Regions from separate parts of the Homo sapiens genome. Here region 1 is linked to region 2. Evidence: promoter capture Hi-C in human tissues and cell types (Jung and others, 2019). All regions are on one chromosome and are shown on one strand. Each heading gives the region's core, a stretch centred on a gene start or on the middle of the fragment in contact. The rest is flanking DNA. Distances are from core to core; before and after follow the strand shown.

What was found. The method cuts DNA at HindIII sites, captures the fragments that hold promoters and counts their contacts. A contact is called where the count stands out against the background at its distance.
Region 1: a contact is called between a fragment that was not itself captured here and the fragment with the promoter of SAMD5 in region 2, in 1 of the 25 tissues and cell types used here (aorta).

What each region holds. Positions count from the first base shown.
Region 1 is chr6:148,232,347-148,236,197 of GRCh38, reverse strand. It overlaps a transcript of SASH1 not described here. Among named protein-coding and RNA genes, the nearest start is that of SASH1, 110 kb to the left of the region's middle. The HindIII fragment of the contact is 5,038 bases long and covers 1-3,851 here.
Region 2 is chr6:147,507,322-147,511,104 of GRCh38, reverse strand. SAMD5 (sterile alpha motif domain containing 5) reads right to left here and starts at 2,415. Exons shown (of 2, transcript NM_001030060.3): 1 at 1,718-2,415. The coding sequence starts at 2,176. The HindIII fragment of the contact is 17,257 bases long and covers 828-3,783 here.

The DNA.
Region 1 (3,851 bases), core at 285-2,784, 730 kb before region 2:
ATTTAAGCAGCCCAATTTAGTCTGTGTTCCTTCCTGTTCCCTGACCTCTGGAATAGCTTGGGATAGTTTCCTGCATGCCACCATTTCCTACCCACACCCCTCCTTGCCATGCAAATGCAAACCCCAAGGTGCTATGAAGTCTCCAAGAGTCCTTGTATTAGACCATTATTTTCTGAATCCTAATATTCATAATGAATGAACAGGGTCCTTCAGAGTCCTTGAACACAAAGAAGGAATTTTAAAATATAAGAAGAAAACTAGCCTACAGTGTCTCTGCATGTATGTTTTACATTTTCCTTAATAGTGAGAGACACGATAAGGTTTGATTGACTTTGTCCACCAGTAAACTTAAAATAGAGGTTCTAGAAATAACGTGTAACTAGCCAAGGGGAAAATTTAAGGCCATTGTGGAAGAGTAGGAGTTCTTGTGAGAGTCAAGGTCTTAACTCGCAAGACTTCTCCAACTCTTTGCATCTACAATTATTTACTGAATAGCATTGCTACAAACATGTTTGTACTGGTCCCTGTGAGTAAGTGGGCTGAAATACAAGGAGCTGTAGGTTTGACTCATCAAAATATATGTGTAAGAGCCAACCATAGGGCTCCTGGACATGTTATTATATCCTGGAAACTGCTGAGTTCATGTATAATTTAGACATGTAAAACCACGCACAAATACATATTTTAAAAATTATACAGTTTCTAATCAATTTAACATATACTGTGGAAAATAATCATGCTGAAAAAATAATAGTGTTAGCTATGCCTCCATGATTGAGTAGGTTAAAAAGGACAATAAGGAGTGATAGTAACAGAAAATATCTTTTTGATTAGAGATATTTTATTTTTCTGATTTTGTCTTTTCTTTCAGTGAGTTAAATACATTTGAGGAGATTAACGCCAAATGATTAAGATGACATGATAAGATAAGGTCAGCAATCAGGGGCTGTTAATCTACCTACAACCCCCATCCACCTCCACCATACACATACACCAATTGTCTTTTAACACTTACGTTCTTTGCAGAATTGGGTTTGGTTATGTGATTACCATTGACACGTTATGACGCAAGTGCTCCTGGGGTGTAGACCATTGTTTTTATTAAACTTCTGAGCCAAAATCATAGAATGGCGGTATTGAGCAAGGAGGAGGGAGAATCCATGTATTGTTGGTGCTTGTTATCAGATTATCCCAAAATGGATACTATTCTACTTCACCTGGGACCGAAGACAGCCCACAGACCCATTACGGGTACATTTTAGATAATATTTCTGATGTTAGAGAATAAGCATTTTCAGACCCCACCAGGTTCTCCAGCTTCTTGGCCTGAGCTTTCAGTTCCTCCTCCTCCTTCTTTTTTTTTTTTTTCTGAAACGGAGTTTCGCTCTTCTTGCCCAGGCTGGAGTGCAATGGCGCAGTCTCGGCTCATTGCAACCTCCGCCTCCCGGGTTCAAGCGATTCTCCTGTCTCAGCCTCCTGAGTAGCTGGGATTACAGGTGTCTGCCACCACGCCTGGTTAATTTTTGGTATTTTTAATAGAGATGGGGTTTCCTCATGTTGGCCAGACTGGTCTCGAACTCCTGACCTCAGGTTATCTACCTGCCTTGGCCTCCCAAAGTGCTGGCATTACAGGTGTGAGCCACCACGCCCGGCCAGTTCCTCCTTCTTCTTATCCTCACCTCCCCACCCCAAGTTAACTCAGACTAGCCCAGATATGCCCTGAGCAAAGGAAGGGATCCTGCCAAGCCCTAGATGCTTTGCAGAAACCTCAGTGATAGAAGCCAAATACGGATATTCAGTATAAACACACACATGCACACACACACAATGACATTCAAACTTAACACTTGAATCAACTAAAAAAAAAAAGCTTTGCTAAGTTTGCTAGCTTTTTAAAGAGATGGTTTAAAGGGACTGCAACTCAGAATGTACTTTTCAATAGAAATAGTAATTCTAAGGCAAGCTTAGGATACTGCAATTAGCCTAAGTGGTAGGCTGGGCATGGTGAAGCCAGTGCCTGTGGTCCCAGCTACACTGGAGGCTGAGGTGAGAGGATTCCTTGAGCCCAGGAGTTTAAAGCTGCAGTGATCTATGAGGGCACCACTGCACTCCAGCCTGGGCTACAGAGTGAGACCCTGTCTCAAATTGTATCCCTATCCCCACCCAAAAAAAACCTAAGTGGTACTCATTTCACAGCAAATGCTCACTTCCTCTCTTTTTCTAGTATTTTTTTCTTTTTCTCTGTGGATCACATAAAGGGAGGAACATTTAGTTTTTTTTTTTTGGAAACAGAGTCTCACTCTGTCACCCAGTCTGGAGTGCGGTGGTGCCATCATCGCTTACTGCAGCCTCAAACTCCTGGGCTCAAGAGATCCTCTCATCTCAGCCTCCCATGTAGCTAAGAATGCAGGTGTGTGCCACCATGTCCAGCTAATTTTTTTTTTTTTTTTTTTTTGTAGAGAGGAAGCTGCCATCATAGCTCCCTGTGTTGCCTAAGCTGGTCTCAAACTCATGACCTCAAGCAATCCTCCCTCTTTGGCCTCCCAAAGTGCTGCGATTACAGGCGTGAGCCCCTATGCCTGGCTGATTTAGATAGTTTTAATTAACATGTAATTCATTGCTTAATGTCTTTAATTATCTCTTCTCTGTAAGCACCATGAAAGCAGGAGTTGATTCTTGTTCCTACCTGTATCACCAATGATTGGCACATAGTACATACACAATATACATTTTTCAACGATATGAACGTATGAAAGAATAAAAAGAGAGAAAGAAGAAAGGAAAAAAGGTGGACACTGGGTGGGTGAAGGTTCTGGTCTGCTTGAAAGCTTCCCCCTCTTTCTCTGGCAGATGAGAGGGCAAAGCCCTACAGCATGGTGCTTTGCAGTACTGAAAGGAGCATGAACTTCGGTGTCAGACAGACTGGGTCTCAATCTTCGCTCTACCCTTGGCTGTGCTTCACTATTTTTTTTTTTTTTTTTTTAAGATGGAGTTTCTCTCTTGTTGCCCAGGCTGGAGTGCAATGGCGCGATCTCGGCTCACTGCAACCTCCGCCTCCTGGGTTCAAGCAATTCTCCTGCCTCAGCCTCCCGAGTATCTGGGACTACAGGCATGTACCACCACGCCGGCTAATTGTGTATTTTTAGTAGAGACGGGGTTTCTCCATGTTGGCCAGGCTGGTCTTGAACTCTCGATCTCAGGTGATCCGCCCACCTTGGCCTCCTTCACTATTTAACCTCTCTGAATTTCAGTTTCCTCATCTATATACTGGAGAGAATACCAACTGCATACAATCTTTGTTACATATACCAGATAATGTACTATATATAAAAGCTCTCTGCCAGGTGCCAGGCTCAGAGTTCTGAATAAAGAAACACTAAAAGCTAGTTTCTCGTGGGCACTGACTTTAGGAAATCTTTGAGGTACACATTGCAAGTTTTAGGTGATGCACAGTGGGGTTGTAGGATGAAAAGCTAAGTGCCAAGTCCTCTGATTTTCCTTCCTCACAATCTTTGGCTTAGAGATTTAATACTTTGTCTTCAGCCACCTCTTGAGGGCCAATCCCATCTACTCATCTAAGGCTCTGTCCCACATCTTAATTGTCTTCTGCATAGTTGCATGTTTTACTGTCAGCTCAAATTTAACATACCCGACAACACCGAGTATCAGTTTCTTCCCCAAAGAGTGTCTCCTTTCAGATTATCTTTCTGTTAATCTTACTTCTGTTCCCTAGAACTTCAGGTTCAGAGCCTCAGAATCAGTTATCCTTGACTCACCTAGAAGAAGGATCAAACCATGTCTTCTTGAGCCAGTAGGCCCGAGCCCAAGTCTGAATATCGACAGTTGCCTGT
Region 2 (3,783 bases), core at 1,166-3,665:
TTCCTTTCTTGCCAGGACTTGAACTGTGCCCTTATCAAGTGCCCAGGTACTCACATTCTCTCAGACTAAGCCCACCTTACTTCCCGGGATGCTAATAACAAACATCTAACTGGCTTTGATCTCCTTTGACCTGCTGTGTCCAGGACCAAGCCTTTATACTGATGACCAGATCTCTCTATCCACACCAGACATACATGGAACTCCTACATACAGGCAACTGCCTGGGAAAAGTGTTCTCTCCTTTCCTGCTTTGAGCACACATCAGTGGCACAGAGTGGGTAACTGGAACACGTGTTTAATTTGAAGCACTCTGTCCTCCCAACCTGCCTTCTTTGTATCCTCCTTAAAAAACCAATTAACATGGTCAAGCAGGTGATCTGAATTGCCTATGGTACGTGCAAGGTAGTAGATAATATTAAACCCCTTATTCCCATCTACCTTAGGTATTGTTATCTACTCTTAACAAAGCTTTCCCTTTAACTTCCTTAACTCCAGGCATTACAGCCTTTACTTAAGATTCTACAGCAATACTACCAGGGCCCAAGATACCCACACAACACTGAGATTATCCACATTTCCTATTAGGGAGTTGGGTTTCTGTGGCCCACCAGCTGAGTATGTTTGCCATCATTTTCTCCCTGGGCTCTTCTAAGTCTTGATTTTTAAGCTGAGGTGCTCATATTCCTGTGCACCTTCTGCAATCCTGAGCGTTACCTGTGCTGTCTACTTCTCTATCAAGTCAGGACCCTCTACTCCGACAGCCGCCTGAACTAGAAACCTAAACGGAACAGACTCGCAGCTAGAAGCAGAGCTCTGGTGTGAAGTACCATTTTCTGTTAATTACCCAGCTCCCACTCCACATTTCGGAACTTCCAGGTTCCTTCCCTGAGGCCCCCGGTGCAGAGGATTCCCCTTTAGTTCACTTGTGCTCGGTCCTCCTCTCCCAAATGCAGGTCCACTCACACTTCCTGGAAGTCACAGTTGTACCTACTTCATCTTATCTGGCTTAATAATAAACCAAACTCGTGACAGCCCAGACCTCTGAAGCACATCCTGTGGCCCGATTATCTCTGATGTCCTTAGCACCTTATTGCCTCCAGTATACACAAGTTTAGGAAATCATCTCAAGTGGACTGACACGTGCTTCCTTCACTTTTCCTCTTAAAATGCTCATGTGAATGGTAAGCTTCTCAAATTTGCAGCAGCGCTGGGATTTTTTATGGAATTGAGAAAGGCAGGGCCTGACTTTCCACTCTTTAAAGAGTTCACCGATTTCCCTTAGGAGTTTCTCAAGACTCAAAAAAGGAAAAGAAAGAGAAAAAGGAAGGTAGAAAGCAATGTAGGTATTAACCATTTTTTCTGGTACTCTTCAAACCCAAAACTACTATAGAGGGCGTTAGGAATTCCCCCTGGCTACCAGGTGAAGCAGCGCGAGTCCGATTCCTGACAGGCGAGCACCAGAGAGGATGCGGAGTTTTGGTCGTTAGTTTAGAGATAACATCTGGATGCGGGGGCTTGTCTTACCAACCACTGGAGACACCAGGAAGGACGAAATAATGGGCTAATACAGAAAGAACATAGAAAAGGGTCCCAGATACCCAAAGCCTCCTGGCCTCTCCGTCGTCACCTGGAATGGGTTGCAAAGCCTTGGCACAGGCAGCTGGGCTGTGTCCCCTCCCGCCGCGCGCCCCGGGCCGCCCGGACGGCACCTCCTTACCTTGCGGGAGTACGGGGGCTTGCTCAGGTGGATGCCGTCACGGACGAGCTTATCCCTGATCATGATCTTCAGCTTCAGTTTGGGGTAGCTCACCAGCTCCCTGCTGCGGGGGGCGGTCGTGTGGCCGCGAGAGTCCCCGCGGGTGCCCTGGGCCGGGCCGCCGCACGGCTCCCCCCGGCGGCCGGTGGGGACGGCGTCGGCGGGCGGCCCGGGGGGCGCCGGCTGCGGCTCAAGCGTGAAGTAGAGGCCGGCGGCGTTGGCGTCCTGCTCCCGCAGCCGGCGCACGGCCTCCAGGATACGGCGGCGGTGCGCGGGCGCCAGCACCCCGATGGCATCCAGGTCCGGGTCCCCGATCTGCTTGCACACCTCCAGGTCATCGTAGCCGTTATCCACGAAGGACTCCGCGTACTGCGGAAGCTGCAGCGCTTTGAGCCACTCGTAAACTATGTTGGTGCACATGGTGGGACCGGGAACCCCGCCGCCGAGCACCTTCCCAGCGCCCAAATGGCACGGGCGGCACCAGTTCTTGGAACTTTTAATCCTCTCCTCCAAGGGGAAAAGGGTATCGCAGTAAAGTTTTCCTTTTAAAGGAAAGGCTCGGGCAGGAGACGGAAAACCATCAGAAGAAGCCTGAGGAAGGGAGAAGCGAACAAGCAGCAAAGTGAATTCCCCAAGCAGCAGCGGAGCTCGCAGGCACTGGCTGCTGGGCTGAGCAAGGCTCCGCGCCGCCCCTGGATGCGCCGCCGACGCTGCCGCCGCGGGGAGGGGCGCGCGACTGGCGCGGGAGGGGGCGGAGACGGGAGGGGCCGGGGCACACCCCTCGGACCTGCGCCGGGTCAGCGCTGCGCAGTGCCGCCCGCGAGTTTTCCCAGCCGGGACGGTCCGGCGGCTGCGCGCCGCATCTCGCGCTCTGGCAGCCGCCGCCGCCGCTGGCGCGCTCCGCGCCGCGAGGCGACTTCTCCACGCAGACCCGCGGCCGCTGGGAGCGCCTAGTCTTCGCGAGTGTCAGTCACTGTAGTCCTCCCGGCGGGAAGCCGGTGGCTTCTACGCTGCTGGGCTCCGTTGGCTGCCCTGGGTTGCTTTTCACATTTCTGTTTAATCTGACTCTTCTACCCGTGGAAGTCTGTGCTCACTTCTTCCCGACCCTGCCGGACTCCAGCTTCCGCGCCCGCTGGCAGCCCAAGGACACGTCCCGCCGCCCCACGGCGCTGGGGACGCTGCGGGGTTCAGTGTCCCTTCCTTCCGGATCCGCGTTTGAATCCCCCTTCCTCGGATCCCGTACGCAGCCCAGAGCCCGGCGATCTGACTTCTTCCGTGGGCGGCCACTCAGTGACCCGAGCGGCGGCGTTTTGGCCCGGAGGGTGGGCGCAACGTGGGGACCGCCCGGGTCCAGCCGGCTTGCGCGCCGCCCCTCCTCGCTGCAGCTGGGCACGTTGGGCGGCAGGAGAGGCTGCTGTCTTCCTGGCTCTCCCTTCCTAAGCTCCCGGGTCTGCGAAAGTTTGGGGTGGGTTGTACTTTCTCCTAGGTCAGTGTGTCCCACCCGGTACCCCACCCTCCTTTCTGCCCGGCCCCTCCCCCTCGTCGGCGCTATGCTTTCTCTCCGGGCCCCCCACCTAGTATACTGCACGGGCTCCCGGGGTGGCTTTGCCCCCGGGGACACTGCCAGGCGTTCGGTCCTGGAGCCCGGGAATCCGAGCCTATCCTCTCGCTCCCGCCCGGGGATCGCGTGAAAATCAATAGAGCACCACCCAGCTCGTGTTGGAAGGGACGCTCAGACATCTCCGCCCACGGCATTTTCCCTCTAGGAGGTAACAAAATCAATCGAGTTTCCCCATCATGCCAATGTCTGAGCAGCCTCTTGGGACTGGGGACTCGAGTGGCAGGTGGAACAGACCAAGCGCCTGGGCCCCATTTCCCGGTGTCTGACCTCTTCTTGGGACTAAGGGAAGTGAGGGACGGCGGGGGCAGGTACTGTCTCCTCTCTTTCCGCAGAAGGGCGATTCAGCTTCGCACCTGAGCTGTTTAAGGACCAGATCTGACCTTTTTTTCTGAAGATTGCCCGTGGG